Linked DNA regions of Homo sapiens: all the other regions are linked to region 2. Evidence: promoter capture Hi-C in 16 types of primary human blood cells and fetal thymus (Javierre and others, 2016). All regions are on one chromosome and are shown on one strand. Each heading gives the region's core, a stretch centred on a gene start or on the middle of the fragment in contact. The rest is flanking DNA. Distances are from core to core; before and after follow the strand shown.

Region 1 (4,735 bases), core at 39-2,538, 250 kb after region 2:
CAAAACCCCACCTCTACTAAAAAAAAAATACAAAAATTAGCCAGGCATGGTAGTGGGCGCCTGTATTCCTAGCACTCTGGGAGGCCGATGAGGGTGGATCCTCTGAGGCTAAATGTTTGAGACCAGCCTGGAAAAGATGGTGAAACCCCATCTCTACTAAAAATACAAAAAATTAGCCAGGCTTGGTAGCGGGTGCCTGTAATCCCAGCTACTCAGGAGACTGAGGCAGGAGAATGGCTTGAACCCAGGGAGGCGGAGGTTGCAGTGAGCCGAGATCACAACACTGCACTCCAGCCTAGGTGATAGAGTGAGACTCTGTCTCAAAAAAAAAAAAAAAAAAAAGTAAAGTTGGCCTGGTACAGTGAGTCACATCTATAATGCCAGCACTTTGGGAGGCCAAGGCTGGAGGATCACTTGAGTCTAGGAGTTTGAGACAAGCCTGGGCAACATGGTGAAACCCCATCTCTACATAAGATACAAAAAGAAAAATTAGGTGGGCATGGTGGTGCATGCCTATAGTGCCAGCTACTCAAGAGGTTGAGATGGGAGGATCACGGGAGCCTGGGAGGTCAACGCTGCAGCAAGCCATAATCACACCACTGCACTCCAGCCTGGGTGACAGAGACCCTGTCCCAAAAATAAATAAAGTTATTCCAACCTCATAGCCATTATAAGCTTCTTAATACCCTGCCACCAATATTCACTCATATGGTCACAAAGGACATTTAACCGTAAACTAGTCCCAAAATGATGCTTGAGAAAGGGATTCTATGGTCAAACAAATTTGGGAGCTAGTATACAGCAGTGTTCCACTTTCTTTCCACTTTCTTTTGATTTTTCTTTTTTTTTAGATGAGATCTCACTCTATTGCCCAGGCTGGAGTGCAGTGGCGTGATCTTGGCTCACTGCAGCCTCCACCTCCCAGGTTCAAGCAATTCTCCTGCCTCAGCCTCCCGAGTGGCTAGGGTCACAGGCGTGTGCCACCTCTCCCAGCTAATTATTTTGTTTGTTTTTGAGCAGAGTCCCACTTTCAACACACTAGCAAAGGCAAAAAGCTATCCTTTGTTGATAACTGAGAAAACTACATTTTACCAAATACGACTATTAGTAACTGGACTATAATTTAGGTAGGCACATCAACCACCACCATCACTGCCACCAATCATAACCCCGGCCCTCAAAACTTTATCAGGCCAGGCACAGTGGCTCACACCCATAATCCCAGCACTTTGGGAGGCCAAGATGGGTGGATCACCTGAGGTCAGGAGTTCAAGACCAGCCTGACCAACACAGTGAAACCCCATCTCTACTAAAAATACAAAATTAGCCAGGTATGTTGGTACATGCCTATAATCCCAGCTAGCTGGGAGGCTGAGACCCTGGAGGCAGAGGTTGCAGTGAGCCGAGATCGCATCACTGCACTCCAGCCTGGGTGACGAGAGCAAGACTCCACCTCAAAAAAAAGAAAAAAGAAATTTCCTATGAGTAACTCAGCTGCAAGCTAAAAATCCTGAAATTAATGTCTGTGTATCTCTACACATCCCTTACTTAACCAGCTTCCCTAATGAAAAGAATTAATGAAAAGGAGCAGTAAGAGGTCCACGTACCAGTTGCCGTATGTATTCCTGAATGGAGTTTGGATAAATAAGCACAGTGATTGCAACCAACATGTTCAGGGCAAAGTCAAAGATCTGGTAACAGAAGAATGGGATGATCCAGGCTGCGCGTTGCTAAACAGAACAGAAAATAGAAAGTTAATGTGTTCAATATTATAAAACAATATTTTTCTTAAATTCAAAGTATTTTATTAATCTGAAAGGAAATGGAAAAATTGGAATTCATTAACCCAGGTCATGGTGGAAACCAGTATGCCAAATATAAGCAGTCAACAAATAAGCTTCAGTGAACATTTCCAGGACTGGCTGTGTGTGGTGTCTCACACCTGTAATCCCAGCATTTTGGGAGGCTGAGGTGGGTGGATCACTTAAGGTCAGGAGTTCGAGACTAGCCTGCCCAACATGGTGAAATCACGTCTCTACTAAAAAATACAAAAATCAGCAAGGTGTGGTGGCACACACCTGTAGTCCCAGCTACTCTGGAGGCTGAGGTGGGAGAATCACTTGAACTTGGGAGGCGGAGATTGCAGTGAGCTAAGATCACACCACTCTACTCCAGCCTGTGTGACAGAGTGAGACCCCGTCTTCCCAAAAAAAAAAAAATTTCCAGTATAATATTGGTTTTCCTAGTACCACATAATACAAACGAGAGATTTAAACAGAGATTCTTAACAGAAAACTGGAAAGTCACTTCTCACTATAGACAGCAGCACAGATTACACATGTAAGAGACCAAGGAAAAGGCCAGCATCTTACTGCAAGCGGCTTACCTTGTACGCTCCGTAAGTAGCCATAGCACATATCAGGATCATGAGAAGAGAAATCGCAATGGCAATGCACATGTCTGCCGAAAGATTAAAAAGAATTTCTTTAAAAAAGACAATCAGTAGTGGATCCACTGAATACTTTCAGTCTCTTCTCAAAGGCATTTTGTAAATAAACTAGCATAAAGTTAGTAAATACTTTATACTAAGAGATTATTTCAAAATAGAAAAAGGGATATTGGTTTACAGATTTTTTTAATGTTTGTTCTTCTGGTCCACTGGATTATATAAATAATGAATTAGGTATTACTTTATAGATATATAGGTGTCTAACTTCTATTTTGTAAACTCATGTGTGCCTCAAAGCTCTAATGAAAGCCTTCATAGCTTCCGATCTTATTTAAAATAAAAACTCCGGCCAGGTGCGGTGGCTCACACCTATAATCCCAACACTTTGGGAGGCCGAGGAGGGCGATCACGAGGTCAGGAGATTGAGACCATCCTGGTTAACACAGTGAAACCCCATGTGTACTAAAAATACAAAAAATTAGCCGGGCGTGGTGGTGGGCACCTGCTGACCCAGCTACTTGGGAGGCTGAGGCAGAAGAATGGCATGAACCTGGGAGACAGAGCTTGCAGTGAGCCGAGATCGCGCCACTGCACTCCGGTCTGGGCGATAGAGCGAGACTCCATCTCAAAAAAATAAATAAATAAAAATAAAACCTTCATTTCTTATCAAGGCCTTGATGTTCCTCTTTATTCCAGAGCAGTCTACCTCTCTAATCTCGCCTCACCTTGTCCCACTCTCTTGCTTGCTCTAAGACAGCCATATCATCTGGTTCATTCTATTTTATTTATTTTTTCTTTTTTCTTTTTATTTTTTTGAGACAGAGTCTCACTCTGTCGCCCAGGCTGGAATGCAGTGGGACAACATTGGCTCAATGCAAATTCCGCATCCCAGGCTCAAGCAAGTCTCCCAGGCTCAAGCAAGTCTCCCACCTCACCCCCTAGGTACCTGAGACTACAGGTGTGCTCCACCATGCCAATTTTTATATTTTTAGTAGAGACGGGGGTTTCACCATGTTGGCCAGGCTGGTCTCGAACTCCTGACTTCAAATGATCTGCCAGCCTCGGCCTCCCAAAGTTCTGGGATTACAGGCGTGAGCCACCATGCCTGGCCTTCAACTTCTTTTTTCCTTTAGTCAATCTCTGGTAAATAAGGAGTCTTGTTTGGTCTCCCAATCTGGAGTTGCAGTGGTGTGATCATGGCTCATTGCAGCTTCAATTGCCTGGGCATTGTCACTATGGGATTATAGGCATAAGTCACCGCACCCGGACAAAAATATCTTAAACCAACTTGGCAGGTACACAACTGCTTGTAGCACCATTATTTGCTACGGGTAATAAATATTTTATAAATATTCTTTTATACCTACTCAATATTTAATAAGAAATAATTTTATAAAAATGAACCCCAAACTATTGGTTTTTTTAAACTGCTTTTCCTAGATCTGGCAGAACAAATTATTGTCAATGAGAAAAATAATATTGGTTTTCATTGTACATGCAACTTCTCTAAAAGCTTTGCATTTTTTCGACAGAGATCTAGAGGGGAAAACATAATCTGCATACTAAATCTCTACTAAATTGCAAATCACATCCTGATTTCAAAAACATTAAAATGTAAACAACAACAATAAAATGCATTGGAGAAGCAGCCGGTGAGCACGTTAAGAGCATGAAAGGAGGAATACTGGACACCAGAGCTGATCTAACTCCTTCTTAGCCAGTGGCAAACAGGACCTCAACAGATCCAGGGGATTCTGTAGGCTTAATGCATCTGGAGTGTCAACTTGACTGGACTGAAGGATGCAAAGTATTGTTCCTGGGTGTGCCTGTGAGGGCGTTGCCAAAGGAGATTAACATTTCAGTCAGTGGACTGGGAGACGAAGACCCACCCTCAATCTGTATGGGTACCATCTAACCAGCTGCCAGCCTGGCTAGAATAAAGCAGGTAGGAGAAGATGAAGAGCAGACTTGCTGAGTCTTCCGGCTTCCATCTTTCTCCCGTGCTGGATGCTTCTTGCCCTCGAACATCAGACACCAGATTCTTCCGCTTTTGGACTCCTGGACTTACACCAGTGGTTTTCCAGGGGCTCTCCGGCCTTTGGCCACAAACTGAAGGCTGCACTGTCAGCTTCCCTACTTTTGAGGTTTTGGGACTTGGACTGATCCATCACTGGCTTCCTTGCTCCTCAACTTGCAGATGGCCTATCATGGGACTTTACCTTGTGGTCATATAAGTCAATCCTCCTTAATAAACTTCCTTAAATATATCCCATTAGTTCTGTCCCT
Region 2 (4,596 bases), core at 22-2,521:
ACTGCAATAACACAAGGTGCTAAGAGAAAATCTGTGAAAAGGAATTCACTCCAGTACAAAATCCCCGCTAAAGTTCGCCTTGCAGAAGACTGTAAACTAGCTTGACGGAGTTTGCTTAACCTCCATAGCATTGTCCAAAATTTTAGCCATTCAAAATCTAAGAAAAGTGAGTCGGCTGTAAAACCCTGTCATTCTCTAATTCATGTAACTGCGTTTATACTTTTCACAGTACTTATCACTGTCAGAAACGATCTTAGCCAATTGTTTCACGTGTTTCTTTTCTGTCTCTTCTATCTTCAATCTCTACAAACAGGGTCACTTGTATCTCCAGCATCTAGCCAAGCACTGGGGTATTATATAGCAGATGCTCAAAATGTCCTTGTTGAGTTTCTTCAGCAAGAGTCAGTGATGACCACTTTTGATCACACATACTTCTCAACTGATACTTAAGCCGAAGATAGGGGAAAGTGTGTCTGACCTATTCAGAGTGCAGGGACCCATTTGATGGAGTGAATGCTCCTCTGGATTCTCCGCATCTTTTGCCATCTTTGATGCTGAAACGCTAATGGGAGGGTAAATGGGGAAAAGTCTTTTTTGTTGGTGTTTTAGTAGAGACGGGGGAGCGGAAGATCTCGCTTTGTTACCCAGGTTTTTCTCGAACTTCTGGTCTCAAGAGATCGTCCCGCCTCAGCCTCCCAAAGTGCTGAGATTGCAGTCGTCAGCCACCGCCCCCAGCCTTGGTAGAAGGCCTTGATAGGACATTTCTCCTGTGTTTAAGGCAATGCCGAGGCTAACCGCCTTAGGGCCTCAACACCAACTCCCCGAGATCCCATCAGCGGACAGGGTGAATCCAGCGCCCGGCCTCGGGCCCCGCGCGTCTCGCAGCGAGCGCCGCGGAGCGCACCAGGGCCGCCGCACCCGCGGTCACAGCAGCGCCGCTCCAGATTTGGAAGGAAATCGCGCTTTGTCCCGGGTTCTGCTCGCATCCTCCGGGACAAGGCCCGGCTCCTGCCAGGCGGGGTGGCCACGGGACACACCCTTTGGACCTCCTGGGGAGTTAGCCCACCCGAGTCCCCAGCCCGGGCGCGGGCGGCGCCGGTACCCTGCTCACCGCTGGGGAACCTGCTGCTGTCGCCGGCCTTGTTGAGGGCGCTGCTGGAGCAGCCCATTGCGGGGAGCGCAGACACCTGTCTCAGCCCTGCGCGGGTGTCGGCCCGGAACCGGGAACCGAAGGCAACTGCACCCGTAGCCGCGGAAGTTTCTCCAGCTCTGCAGCCCGGCTCCCTTGGGCGTAGAGCGCAAGCGCGCAGCGGGGCTAATGGTAGGGGGTGCGCACCTGGAGGAGGAAGGGAGCTGGCAGGAGGTGGAAGGAGCCTGGGAGCGCAAAGCGGAAGAGAGCGGGAGGGCCAGGACGCAGAGGAGGGCAGGGAGGAGTAGAGCCCAGGAGACAGGAGGGGAGACGGTGGAGGGTATGGCACAGTAAGAGAGGAAAAGCCCCTAAAGCAGGGATAGGGAGGATGTCAGGGGGCGAGGGCGAAGCGCTGGGAGGTATCATCTGACTCATCACTAAATAGCCAGGGAGGCGAGGCGGCCTTGGGACTAGGGGCTATTGATTGGTAGACTAGATGTGCGATGACAGTCTTATTTTCTTACATAACTACAATTACCACAAGGAAGTTTAACTTTGATACAGTACGATTTAATCCACCCTCCATGTTCCCTTTTTGCCAATTGTCCAATCCAGGACTGCACGTTGCATTTAGTTGTGTCTCTCTTTAGTTTGCTTTAATCTGAAGTAGTTCCTCCAGTCTTGCTTTGTCGTTATGACTTTGACATTTATTAAGAGAATAGATTTTTTTTTTTTTTTGAAACCGAGTCTCTCTCTGTTGCCCAGGCTGGAGTGTAGTGGCGCAATCTCGGCTCACTGCAACCTCTGCCTCCCGGGTTCAAGCGATTCTCCAGCCTCAGCCTCCAGAGCAGCTGGGATTACAGGCGCCTGCCACCGTGCCCAGCTAATTTTTGTAATTTTAGTAGAGACGGGGTTTCACCATATTGGTCAGGCTGGTTTCGAACTCCTGACCTCAGGTGATCCACCCGCTTCGGCCTCTCAAAGTGCTGGGATTACAGGCATGAGCCACTGCGCTCGGCCTTTTTTTTTTTTTTTTTTTTTCCGGAGATGGAGTCTCACTGTGTCACCAAGACTGGAGTGTAGTGGCGAGATCTCAGCTCACTGCAACCTCCACCTCCCTGGTTCAAGAAACTCTCCCTGCTTCAGCCTCCTGAGTAGCTGGAATTACAGGCATGCGCCACCACGTCTGGCTATTTTTTGTATTTTTTAGTAGAGACGGCGTTTCACCATGTTGGCCAGGCTGGTCTTGAACTCCTGATCGCAGGTGATCCGCCCGCGTGGGACTCCCAAAGTGCTGGGATTACACATGTCAGCCACCGCACCCGGTGAGAACAGGCTTTTTTTTTTTTTAATTTGAGACACGGTTTCATTCTTGTTGCCCAGGCTGGAGTGCAATGGCACAATCTCAGCTCACCACAACTTTCGCCTCCTGGGTTCAAGCAATTCTCCTGCCTAAGCCTCCTGAGTAGCTGGGATTACATGCATGCGCCACCACACCCTGCTAATCTTGTATTTTTAGTAGAGATGGGGTTTCTTCATGTTGGTAAGGCTGGTCTCGAACTCCCGACCTCAGGTGATCCGCCTGCGTCAGCCTCCCAAAGTGCTGGGATTACAGGCATGAGCCATCGCGCCTGGCCAGGCCTTTTTTTAGAGAGAAAGAGGCTGGGCGCGGTGGCTCATGCCTGTAATTCCAGCACTTTGAGAGGCTGAGGCAGGAGAATCTCTTGAACCCGGGAGGTGCAGTTTTCAGTGAGCCAAGCCTGCCCTCCAGCCTGGGTGACAGAGCAAGATTCCATCCAAAAAAAATTTTTTTATAGAGACAGGAGTCTTGCCATGTTGCCCAGGCTGGTCTTGAACTCCTTACCTCAGGGGATCCTCTTCCCTTTGCCTCCCCAAAGTGCTGGGATTACAGGCATGAGACAGTGTGCCTGTGATTTTCTAATTACATTATTCCTTCTATATTGATTAGCTGCCATTCTACTACAAAGTAAGGAAGTGCTTTTCCTTCCCCCCATTTATTCACTTACATCAGTGAGCACTCATGAAGTCTCACACTATCCAATGTAGTATGTTACCATCTGTGAGAGTTTGCTAGGGGTGCTATAATAAAGTACCACAGACTGGATGGCTTGAAGTACAGACATGTATTTCCTCATAGTTCTTGAGATTAGAAGTCAAAGATCAAGATGTCAGCAGAACTGGTTTCTTCTGAGGGCTTGTCTTCTTGGCTGGTAGATGGCCATCTTCTCCATGTCTTCACTTGATCTCCCCCTTGTGCTTGTCTGTGTCCTAATCTCCCCCTCTTATAAGAACACCAGTCATATTGGATTAGGGCCCATATAACCTCATTTTACCTTAATTACCCATTTAAAGGCTATATTTCCAAATACTGTACAGTCACATTCGTAGGTTCTGGGGGTTAGGATTTCAGCATATAAGTGTCCAAGAAGACAATTCAGCCCATAATAACATCATTTTAAAATATTTGAGACAGAGTCTCACTCTGTCACCCAGGCTGGGGTGCAGTGGTGCAATCATAGCTCACAGCAGCCGTAAGCTCCTGAGCTCAAGCAATCCTCCAGCCTCAGCCTCCTGAGTAGCTAGGATTGTAGGCATGTGCCACCATGCCTGGATAATTAAAAAAAATTTTTTTTTAATAAAGATGGGGTCTTGCTATGTTGCCCAGGCTGGTCTCAAGTTCTTGGACTCAAGTGATTCTCCTGCCTTGACCTCTAAAAGCTGGGATTACAACACCATAATTATTTACTTTGATGCTCAAATTGCCTAAAATTTGCCATATTTGTCTATACGGCTCATTGGATACACAGCCCTGGGCTTTACTATATGTTTAGAGGTCCCTCCCTTCCTTCTTTTTTTTCTTCTCTTCCTCCCTCTCTCCTTCTTTCTCCTCCTCCTGTTCCTCTCCTTTTTTTACTTTCTCTGTCTTCCTCTCCTTCTCTCCCCTGTAATTCAGGCCTGAAAAATCTTGGCCACCCAGCAATTGAATCACTAATCCCTTTGAATGCAGGGAGACTGGGTACCTTTGAAGAAGTGTCCTTCATAACAATACCAATATGTACAGTGATTCTACCTTCTAGCCCTCCACCAAGGGTTATTGTGCCTCAAGGAAAGAGAAATATGTTGAAAGTGGCTAATGATTTGGCCGTATGGTTACAGACGTGGAAGGAACAAGATTACAGGATTGGCACAAGGAGTTTAGGGGAAAGGAATTAGATGGACCTTTCAGAGTGAGTCTAGGTTTGGGGAGTATTTGTGTCTTATGTAAATGCTTACAAAAGGCCCTGTATTAGTCAGCTTGGACTTCCATAACTAAATTCCATAGACTGGGTGGCTTAAACAACAGAAGTTTATTTCTCACAGTTCTGGAGGCTGGGAAGTCCAAGATCAAGATGGGGGTCAATTCAGTTCCTGATGAGGCCCCTTTTCCTGGCTTTGCAGACAGCCAT
Region 3 (4,928 bases), core at 1,923-4,422, 220 kb after region 2:
GGCGCGGTGGCTCACGCCTGTAATCCTAACACTTTGGGAGGCAGAGCCGGGAGAATTGCTTGAGGTCAAAAGGTAGAGACCAGCCTGGCCAAGATAATGAAACCTTGTCTCTAAATACAAAATATAAAATTTAGCCAAGTGTGATGGCATATGCCTGTAGTCCCAGCTACTGAGGAGGCTGAGGCATGGGAATTGCTTGAACCCAGGAGGTGGAGGTTGCAGTAAGCCAAGTTTGCACCACCACACTCCAGCCTGGGTGAGAGCGTGAGACTCTGTCTTTAAAAAAAAAAAGATATTATATAAGGGAGCACTAAAACTTCTGCAGGAAAAAGATATCCTTACAAAAACCCCAAAGATTAGGCCAGGCGCGGTGGCTCACGCCTGTAGTCCCAGCACTTTGGGAGGCTGAGGCGGGCAGATCACAAGGTCAGGAGTTAGAAACCAGCCTGGCCAATATGGTGAAACTCCGTCTCTACTAAAAATACAAAAATTAGCTAGGCGTGGTGGCGGGCGCCTGTAGTCCCAACTACTCTGGAGGCTGAGGCAGGAGAAATGCTTGAACCCAAGAGGCGGAGCTTGTAGTGAGCTGAGATCGCGCCAGTGCACTCCAGCCTGGGCAACAGAGCAAGACTCTGTCTCAAAAACAAAAACAAAAACAACAACAAAAAAACAAAGATTAGGTACTCCTGTTTGCCGGCCCTCCTGCAGGAGGGAATAGTTCAATTCAGATCTATCCAAGCCAAAAGCAGGGGCTACTGAACAATCTGGAATGTTTCAGATAGCTGTCCTACAGTTGCCTAGAAAACTCAGCCTAAATTTCTAGTAAGGCTGGGGTTGGTAAACTATGTGGGCCAAATAGGGCCTGTCACCATTTTATTGTATGGCCTGGGAGCTAAGAAGTTTTTAAATGTCATTTCATGGTTGAAGGAAAAAAAAATTCAAAAGAAAAATGTTTTGCGACATGTGAAAATCATATGAAATTCAAAATTCAGTGTTTGTAAGTAAAGCTTTATCGGGACTTAGCCACATTCATTCACATATACTGTCTACAGCTGCTTTCCAGCTTCATCAGAAAGTCAAATACTTGCGATAGAGACTATATGGCCCCCAAAACCTGAAATATAAGTTTGCCTTTGCCTGCACTAAGGAAAAGCGCTGCCCTTAATTGTAACCTTGGAAGATGTGATGTCAGATGAGAAAGTACAGTCTCCAAGCAGTCTCATTATTTAAGGGCACTTAAGTCTTCCAAAGGTCCATTTCAATTAATCCCAAGTAGCCAAAATATGTTTTCTTTTCCACCATGTAAAACCCCCAATCACCTATAATGCATCTTGTTTAAAATGTGCAGTGTTTACATCAAATATTTATCTTAAATTGGTCACGCCACATTTGCCTGTTTTGATGTGAGATTCCTTTACTTAAGCCAAACAGGGAAGGGGAGATAAGTGAATTATGAACCTCTGTGAGTAACTGGAATAACTCACAGAGTTATTTGGGCATTTGGGATCGAATAATCAGAAATACAAAGTCTGGGCTTATCTTTAAGATATCTGGTCGCAGTGGCTCACGCCTGTAATCCCAGCACTTTGGGAGGCTGAGGCAGGTGGATCACCTGAGGTCAGAAGTTCAAGACCAGCCTAGCCAACATGGTGAAACCCCACCTCTACTAAAACTACAAAAATTAGCTGGGCGTGATGGCAGGCGCCTGTAATCCCAGCTACTCGGGAGGCTGAGGCAGGAGAATCACTTGAACCCAGGAGGTGGAGGTTGCAGTAAGCCAAGATCGTGCCATTGCACTCCAGCCCGGGTGACAAGAGTGAAACTCCATCTCAAAAAAAAGAGAAAGATATCTAGAATAATTTTTCCAAACTTTTTAAATGCCCCACCTATGATATATACTATAAGTAAACACAGACACACAACTCTGTACCTTTTATTCTAAAGTATACATTTTCGTACATCTTAACATCTCAGAATTTTGGCTGTGCCGCCCCGTCTGGGAAGTGAGGAGCGCCTCTGCCCAGCCACCCTGACTGGGAAGTGAGGAGCCCCTCTGCCCGGCTGCTGCCCCATCTGGGATGTGAGGAGCACCTCTACCCAGCTCCCCACTGTCTGGGAAGTGAGGAGTGCCTCTGCCCAGCCGCCGCCCCATCTGGGATGTAAGGAGCGCCTCTACCCAGCTCCCCACCGTCTGGGAAGTGAGGAGCACCTCTGCTTGGCCACCAACTGTCTAGAAGTGATGAGGGCCTCCGCCCGGCTGCCACCCCATCTGGGATGTGAGAAGCGCCTCTGCCCAGCTACCCACCGTCTGGGAAGTGAGGAGCGCCTCTGCCCGGCCGCCCCACCATCTGGGAAGTGAGGAGCGCCTCTGCCCGGCCGCCCCACCGTCTGGGAAGTGAGGAGCACCTCTGCCCGGCCGCTGTGCAACCTTCTAAGTGTGAAGTGACAGCCTTGTGTGTGATCTTTTCTGTCTTCCCCAAGTTTGCATTTTCAACATTAAAGTTTACCTTTTAATTTTAAAAAATAATAATAATTTTGGCTGTGCCTTGTAACAGTACCTCACAGTAAGAGGTACCTAAAATAATAGTGCTATTGACAAGTGATAACATCTTGTCTTCAGTGAACCTAAGACATCGGGAGATGAGAATATAAACACATTTTTGGGAGTTCTAATGAGAAACTCTCCTCTCACCTAGAGCAAGGAATTGTTTCCAAAGGCAAACAAGATAGAGGTAGATTTTTATCCTCAATTTACTGCAAAACTACTCTGTTTTCTTCACTTCATAATAGGAGGGAGCCATTATTATCCTTAATTCTCAGCAAAGGAGCTATCTGAATTATTTGATACAGATTGTACTCAAAATACAGAATTCACACCGCAAATATTTTCAGTTGGGTCCAAAAATTATAAAATACCAATACAGTGGCCCAAACTGAAAGTTAAAATGGTTCTACACACTGAAGTATAATAGTTAAGTAAATACTGGATATTTAAATATTGAGGAAATGAAATAAGCAGTGTGCTATCACCTCGGTAATCCTATCAAAGGCATCTCAGCAGCTGCCTCTGCATGTTCCTGAAGCCTGAATGTGCTACGCCACCTACTGTACACATCTCCTTCACGACAACAACCGTTCCAGGGGGATACAATCCCACCATGCCCAGCTGCTGCCACAGAACATGGGCTGAAAAAGGAGGGATGCAGGGACTGCTCATGACCTTGGATCTCAGACTCCCATTTCACCTGCCTCCCCTACTCCACATCCTTCCCTGCCACCTCCCTTGCAATAATGGAAAGGGAAATACATTCCCAGAAACCTTTCCTACAATGTAAAAATATAAAATTCCTTGCCTTATTTGTCCCTAGAGTAAAATCAATATGGACTCTGAGGCACGTTATTAAATAAGTTGTGTGTGTGTTTTATAGTAAAATGGTTCACAACGAAAACTAGGTTTGTTTGGAGCTTTAAGAACTTTAGGTTTCAAACATCCATGTGTTGATCTGACTGCTCTAGATGTCCTCTCAAACACACTCTGAGATCCCCCAGATGCAAAGCCTCCTAACGTTTACAAGTGCTCGTGTAGTCTTCTCGAATGTTGCTCTGGGATGAAACAACTGGAAAGTTATATGGCTCGGAGATAATTTCCAGCAGACCGGGACATTTAAAATTTTATTGTTGGTGGCCGGGCGCAGTGGTTCACGCCTGTAATCCCAGCACTTTGGGAGGCCGAGGCAGGCGGATCACCTGAGGTCAGGAGTTCGAGATCGGCCTGGGCAACATGGTGAAACCCCGTCTCTACTAAAAATACAAAATTAGCCAGGCATGGTAACACATGCCTGTAATCCCAGCTACTCGGGAGGCTGAGGCAGGAGAATCGCTTGAACTGGGAGGTGGAGGATGCAGTGAGCCGAGATCGCGCCATTGCACTCCAGCCTGGGCAACAAGAGTAAAACTCCATCTCACCAAAAACAAAACAAAACAAAAAAAATTGTTGGAAGAATATTATGCAGAAGGAAAGAAATAGGAGCCGAGTTAATGTCACATACTGTCAGCCTGAACCTCAGAATTACAGCCAAGGAAAAGGTTTTGGGAGAAAAATCTCAGGAGCATGTAGTCCAATCTCACCCATGATGCTTTGATATTGGAACCAACAGGTAAGTCTATCTGAAGCTGTATGCGCATATGACAACATCGGGAGAATGCAGGGACTGGGGTATGGGAAGCAGGACTGTGTAGCACAACTATATAGATAAGCAGCTGCCCTGGTATGCAAAATTTACTTTTACCCTTTCTTTTTCTTCCGCCCCTTTTCTGAGTTACCCACCCCTCCCTTCCACTGTGTGAAAAGGTAAAAACTAGCAAACGAACAACAAACCAGAAAATCCCACTGCTTTTAAAGTTTCTGACTGTACTCGAGAAGAACTGTCTGAATGAAAAAGTGTCCACATGTTTCACTCCTCATCCTGGGCAATACAGCCAGACACGGCGGTGAGAACACTTGGCCCCAGCTGCAGTCCCAACTGGACAACAGTTAGGAGGAGGTGAGTGGGTCAGAACAGCCTGCAGCCAGGCTGATCAGGTTGTAGTCCCCCTCCTGCCACTCGACTAGCAGGGTGACCTCGGGAAGTTACCCTCTTGGTGCCTCAGTTTCCTCTTTTGCAACACAGGAATTAATAGGACCTAGTACGTGAAGGACTCTTGTGTGATTGAGTTAATCTATGTAAAGCACTCGGCACAAGGCCTGATGGGCGGCAACTGCCACATGTCTGCGGAGAAACCTATGATACAAACACAAGAGTAGGGAGGTCTAAGAGATGCAGAGAGGAGTACAGCATCAATGCAGTCACTCAACCCTCACTGGATGGAACTGGTGGGCACACTGTTGAGGAAATGAGGGCATCAAATGATGGCTGGGCCAGATGACG

Evidence for each region. The method cuts DNA at HindIII sites, captures the fragments that hold promoters and counts their contacts. A CHiCAGO score of 5 or more calls a contact.
Region 1: a contact is called between a fragment that was not itself captured here and the fragment with the promoter of ERICH5 in region 2, in 2 of 17 cell types (M1 macrophages and endothelial precursors). The highest score is 5.2, in M1 macrophages.
Region 3: a fragment that was not itself captured here is called in contact with the fragment with the promoter of ERICH5 in region 2 in 1 of 17 cell types (megakaryocytes); the score reaches 5.2 in megakaryocytes.

The regions. Positions count from the first base shown.
Region 1 is chr8:97,813,053-97,817,787 of GRCh38, reverse strand. LAPTM4B (lysosomal protein transmembrane 4 beta) reads right to left here. Exons shown (of 7, transcript NM_018407.6): 3 at 2,387-2,460; 4 at 1,608-1,730. Among named protein-coding and RNA genes, the nearest start is that of LAPTM4B, 40 kb to the right of the region's middle. The HindIII fragment of the contact is 1,222 bases long and covers 678-1,899 here.
Region 2 is chr8:98,061,243-98,065,838 of GRCh38, reverse strand. ERICH5 (glutamate rich 5) reads right to left here and starts at 1,271. Exons shown (of 3, transcript NM_173549.3): 1 at 1,112-1,271. The coding sequence starts at 1,169. RefSeq lists an enhancer at 831-890 and a silencer at 1,131-1,230. The HindIII fragment of the contact is 8,700 bases long and covers 1-4,596 here.
Region 3 is chr8:97,838,248-97,843,175 of GRCh38, reverse strand. The region is part of intron 6 of LAPTM4B (lysosomal protein transmembrane 4 beta); the gene reads right to left. Among named protein-coding and RNA genes, the nearest start is that of MATN2, 28 kb to the left of the region's middle. The HindIII fragment of the contact is 4,326 bases long and covers 1,010-4,928 here.